2 separate regions of the Homo sapiens genome follow, and region 2 is linked to region 1. Evidence: promoter capture Hi-C in human tissues and cell types (Jung and others, 2019). All regions are on one chromosome and are shown on one strand. The core of a region is centred on a gene start or on the middle of the fragment in contact, and the rest is flanking DNA. Distances in the headings are between cores, read along the strand shown. Region 1 holds the start of GDPD1 (glycerophosphodiester phosphodiesterase domain containing 1). Region 2 overlaps LINC01476 (long intergenic non-protein coding RNA 1476).

Evidence for each region. The method cuts DNA at HindIII sites, captures the fragments that hold promoters and counts their contacts. A contact is called where the count stands out against the background at its distance.
Region 2: a contact is called between a fragment that was not itself captured here and the fragment with the promoter of GDPD1 in region 1, in 1 of the 25 tissues and cell types used here (bladder).

Annotation. Positions count from the first base shown.
Region 1 is chr17:59,219,148-59,221,891 of GRCh38, forward strand. It overlaps GDPD1 (glycerophosphodiester phosphodiesterase domain containing 1), which reads left to right and starts at 1,364. Exons shown (of 10, transcript NM_182569.4): 1 at 1,364-1,604. The coding sequence starts at 1,463. RefSeq lists an enhancer at 1,390-1,940. The HindIII fragment of the contact is 11,394 bases long and covers 1-2,744 here.
Region 2 is chr17:59,520,050-59,522,793 of GRCh38, forward strand. All of the region lies in intron 1 of LINC01476 (long intergenic non-protein coding RNA 1476), which reads right to left. Among named protein-coding and RNA genes, the nearest start is that of LINC01476, 5.4 kb to the right of the region's middle. The HindIII fragment of the contact is 4,297 bases long and covers 1-2,744 here.

The DNA.
Region 1 (2,744 bases), core at 114-2,613:
TCTCGGCTCATTGCAACCTCTGCCTCCCGGGTCCAAGAGATTCTCCTGCCTCGGCCTCCTGAGTAGCTGGGATCACAGGCACACGCCACCACCCCTGGCAAATTTTTGTATTTTTAGTAGAGATGGAATTTCGCCATGTTGGCCAGGCTCCTGACTTCAAATGATCTGCCCGCCTCAGCCTCCCAAAGTGCTGGGATTACAGGCTTGAGCCACCGTGCCCAGCCACCCCCTATTTTCTTCTAATTTTCTTTTTATAGTTGAGATAGGGTCTTGCTCTGTCGCCCAGGCTGGGGTGCAGTGGTGCAGTCATAGCTCACTGCAGCCTCGATTTTCCAGGCTCAAGCAATACTCCCACTTCAGCCTCCCAAGTAGCGTGACTACAGGTGCACGCCACCACGCCGGGCTTATTTTGTTTTATTTTTTGTAGAGATGGGGTTTCGCCATGTTGCCCAGGCTGGTCTCGAACTCCCGGGCTCAAGCGATCCACCCTTCCTTCCCGGCCTCCCTAAGTGCTGGGATTACAGGCGTGGGCCACCGCGCCCGGCTGAATCAGGATTTTAAATATTCACTCTGCTTTTCTAGTCCTGTGGGAGATATGGTCTTCTCCGTAAAATTTCTCCCTCAGTCCTGGGTGATTTATTTCTTTTGCATTGAAGTGTGTGGCTTTTCGTGTGTTAGCAGTTTGTAATTTGTCGGGTAAAAGGAAAACTAGTAGGGCCTTCTGGAACTTAGTTATCTGTCTTTCTAGGACTTTTAGGTAATACCTTATAACCTTAACAAAGTTTCCTTATTTTATACGGACTTGTAAGTCAACAAATACTTCTACAGTGCCTATTGTGTACAAAGAATGAGGATTGCACTTTCACAATGAAATGAGGGAGGACAGGGGCCGATCTCTCAGATATTTGACTGATAAACCAGTACCTTTTCTAGTATATGCGACCATAGGGGAAATTCTCTCTAGGCTAGATAAACGGAGGAGTTTATTTAGTGTTTTAGCAAGCTTTATCGCCTCCATAGGTACAAATTATTTGCATTTTCTAGAGCAAGGGATAAGACGCGCCCTGGAATCTTTCCTTTTTGATGTGGATTTTCCAATTAGGAAAGGCTGCCCGTGAATAGTCTTTTCTGCTTGAGTGATGGCCAACACACTGGCAGGTTTGCAAGCTTTCTCTTCATGAGGGTCCGTCCACAGAGCTAGGTGACAAACGCTCAGTCCAGGATCTCTGCAGGTTCCTACACGGGAGCCGGAGAGCGCCTGCGCGTCGGAGCCTCTTTGTTGCTGGGGCGCTGGGGTCCAGCTGCGCGTGCGCAGTAGGCCGGCACCGACAAGTGCGCTGCACCAGTGGCACCGGCTGGGGGCGAGCCGACCTCGAGCAGCCGCCGCCGCCGCCGTCGTTGCTACTGCCGCAGCGGAGTTCAGAGGGCCCGGAGGTGGGAGACTTCCCACACGGTGACTGAGATGTCGTCCACTGCGGCTTTTTACCTTCTCTCTACGCTAGGAGGATACTTGGTGACCTCATTCTTGTTGCTTAAATACCCGACCTTGCTGCACCAGAGAAAGAAGCAGCGATTCCTCAGTAAACACATCTCTCACCGCGGAGGTGAGAGGGGTCCCCAGAACCCGATGACGGAGGTGGGGGAGGCTGAGGGTCCTTTGCGGCTCCGCAAAAGGCAGCCGGGTGCCAATCCCTGAGAGTTTGAGGAAGAATGGGGTTGTGTGAATTGAGGGCTCTTCCGGAGGTGAAGGCTGTGTGAAGGGAAGGTCTCCTGAGGGGAGGGAAGGAGAGGGATTCCCGGTCAGAGCCACGGCGGGGGTCTCTCGAGGGCAGCAGTGTGAGGGGTTCTCTGAAACGGGAAAGACACGGTCGAGAATGAAGGGTAGGTGGAGCGTTTCTCGGCGGATGGAAGGATGATCGCAAGGTCCCTTCCTAGCAGCAAGACACAAAGGGGGAGCGCCGTGCAGAACCGAGGGTACCCCGCGGGGGGCACCGGGAGCACACTGCTCCGAGCGAGCTAGTGGCTGAGTGGATGGGAAGAGCCGAGGCGACGAGGAGGGCTGGGGATTTGCATGAAGCTGGACGAGCTGTAACCCCTTGTCTGCGGTGCTGGGGGCCCGTCCCACCCCCACGTTCCGAGCACTCATAATTGAGAAGAGAGGGAAACCGAGTCCCCCGAGCCAGGGACATTTCCCAAGGTCACAATTAGAGCTAGGGCTGAACTGAGACAGGAGCTACAGCGTCCTGGTCCTCAGGGCTGGAAACCTTGCATCTTTTTTTTTTTTTTTTTGAACACTGCAATAAATAAATAAATAAATAAATAAATAAATAAACACGCAAAGACACGTGGATTTTCAACAGACTAAAAATGATTTCGTTTAGGACAGGACAGTATTGTTTAAAGAAAACAAAAATAAGTTTCTTTTGGAAAAGTGTTTTGCTAAAAGGAGCCCAGGTAGTCCACCCTCTAATTTCCCAGATAACAGGCCAAATCTTTGCTTCTTCATTATTGTGTAATAATGTGTCTTCATTGCATTTCAACTATGATGTATAAAGTGCGGTGAAATTGGATTATTTTCAATCAATTTTAACTGTTCTTTAAGGCTGAATCTTAAACCGGTTTAAAATTTGCTTGAAATTTAATACACACTTGAAATGATAATTTCTAGGAGTTTACAGTCTAAAACTTGGTGTAGTACCATAATCACTTTACTAACAAGTATTGGCCAAGGAAAAAGGTTTTGA
Region 2 (2,744 bases), core at 111-2,610, 300 kb after region 1:
GGCTAATTTTGTATTTTTAGTAGAGATGGGGTTTCTCCATGTTAGTCAGGCTGGTCTTGAACTCCTAACCTCAGGTGATTCACCCACTTCTGCCTCCCAAAATTCGGGGATTACAGGCGTGAGCCACCGTGCCTGGCTGAGAAGTTTTTTAAAAAGCCTGCACTCAGACCCTGACCCCTTGTTCCCCCTTTGTTCTCCCCAACTCAATTGGTTTGGCTTAGGGCTCAGAATCAGGGTTTTTTTGTTTTTGTTTTTTTAATTGTGGCAAAATATACAAAACATACAATTTACTATATTAATCATTTGTAAGTATACACTTCAGCGTTATTAAGTGCACTTACATTGTTGTGCAACCGTCACCACCACCCATCTCCAGAACTTCCTTCATTTTCCCAAATAGAAACTCCATACCCATTAATCAGTAACTCCCTATTCTCCCCTCCCCATCCCTTGACAGCCACCATTCTACTTCCTGTCTCTATGAATTCGACCGTGCTAGGTAGCGCATATAAATGGAATCATACACTATTTGTCCTTTTGCTTATGCTTATTTCACTTAGCATAATGTCTTCAAGACTCATCCATGTTGTAGTAAGTACCAGAATTTTCTTCCTCTGAAAAGGCAGAATAATATTCCATTGAATAGATAGATATACCACATTTTATTTATCCATTCATCTGTCGATGGACATTTTGATTATTTCCACTTTTTGGCTACAGTGAATAATGCCTCCATGAACATAGATGTCGGTTTGAATCCCTGCTCCCAATTTTTTTGGCCATATACCTAGAAGTGAAATTGCTGGATCATATGATAATCCTGTGTTTAATTTTTTGAGGAACTGACATAGTTTTCCACAGCAGCTTCACATTTTTACATTCCCATCAGCAATGCACAATGATTCCAATTTCTCAGCATCCTCTCCAACTTAAGTGAAATTTTAATCTTTATTTATGTAACCCTTGATAGTAAAAACTTTTCTAACCCTCTTATCTTTAATTATGCTGTATTTCTAAGTTGCATGGTCCTTTTATAGAGAGACAAGGTCTTGCTCGGTCATCCAGGCTGAAGTCCCGTGGTATGATCATAGCTCACTACAGCCTTGAACTCCTGGGTTTAAGAGATCCTTCTGCCTCAGCCTACCAAGTAGCTAGGACTACAGATATGCACCACCATGTCCATCTAATTTTTAAAAAAGAATTTCCTTAGAGGTGGGGTTTTGCTTTGTTGCCCAGGCTGGTCTGAAACTCCCAGCCTCAAGCGATCCTCCCACCTTGGACTCCAGAAGTGCTGGGATTACAGGCATGGGCCTCCGTGCCTGGCCACAAATATTTAAGTTCTTATTCTTCTATCTTCAACAGATACCTTCTTTGATTATAAAAGCAACACAATATATAATTATCAAAAACCTACAAGTCACATAATCTCCATTTTTCCAGGCTTCACCAAGTTGAGAGTACTCATGGGGCCATATTAACAGTAATACCCAAAAGTTGCTGGCTTTTACTCCCAGGCGAATCTTCTTTCCTTCTGCTCTGCCTTGCCACGTTCGGGGAAGTTCCCAGAAAATCTAAGCATGATTTGGGGGAAGAGTCACTGATGTAATTTCCTAGACAGCCACTGGAGGGCAGCAGCTCCCTCTCACCCCCGACCCCAGCCCTGAAGAGGATGCTGCCATCAGGCCCAGAGCATTCCTGAAGCAGCAAACTCTCAGTCATTGCATGGAAACTCTACAGAAACAGGGGGACTATCCCTCTTCCCAACTCTTGGTCACACGTTGTGACCTGGGTTTCGTAAAGTCCTATGTGGAAACAAGCACATGTCAGAGTCCAAGCTTAATAGCGGGTTGAGAATGTGATACACAACAGGATGACCCTGACAGCCTGCAGCTGGCGGCTATCTAGCGTTCCCTCACGCAAGATAAGCAGTTTTCACAGAATAACAACAATAATCAGACAAGGTCCCTCCGTAACCATGGTGGAACAAGACAATAACAAGATTGCAACTTACTCAATCTGAACATGAACACAGACAAAGACATTAAACAATCACGAAAATAACCAAATAGCCACCCTGATGTAGTCACACGAGTGACTCTAGCCTCCCAGGTAAAAATTAAGACACCCAATCATCAGGCCGGGTGCATTGGCTCATGCCTGTAATCCCAGCACTTTGGGAGGCTGAGGCAGGTGGATCACGAGGTCAAGAGATCGAGACCATCCTGGCCAACATGGTGAAACCCTTTCTCTACTAAAAATACAAACTAGCCGGGCGTGGTGGTGTGCACCTGTAGTCCCAGCTACTTGGGAGGTTGAGGCAGGAGAATCACTTGAACCTGGGAGGCAGAGGTTGCAGTGAGCCGAGATCACGCCACTTCACTCCAGCCTGGGCAACAGAGGAAGACTCCATCTCAAAAAAAAAAAAATTGCACTTTGGGGTTTGCAGCAACCTCTTGTTAGTATTTATCCTATCTAGTGGAGAATTTCTCTTTATTTTAACTACTGCCTGAAAGACACTGCTGTGATACATTAATTTTTAATGTAAGTAGGTGCATAGCTATAATGAAAACATCATAATAAATCTTCATACGTGCTGAGAAGATAATCTTGAAATCTATATTATATAAATATCGTCACTTCAATTTATTGTGTACAATTAATGAAGTTTAAAAATATAAGTTCTGAATAAAATTTACAGTATTCTGCTTTTCCTTTAAGAAGAAGGCTGAATTTATCGTGGACTT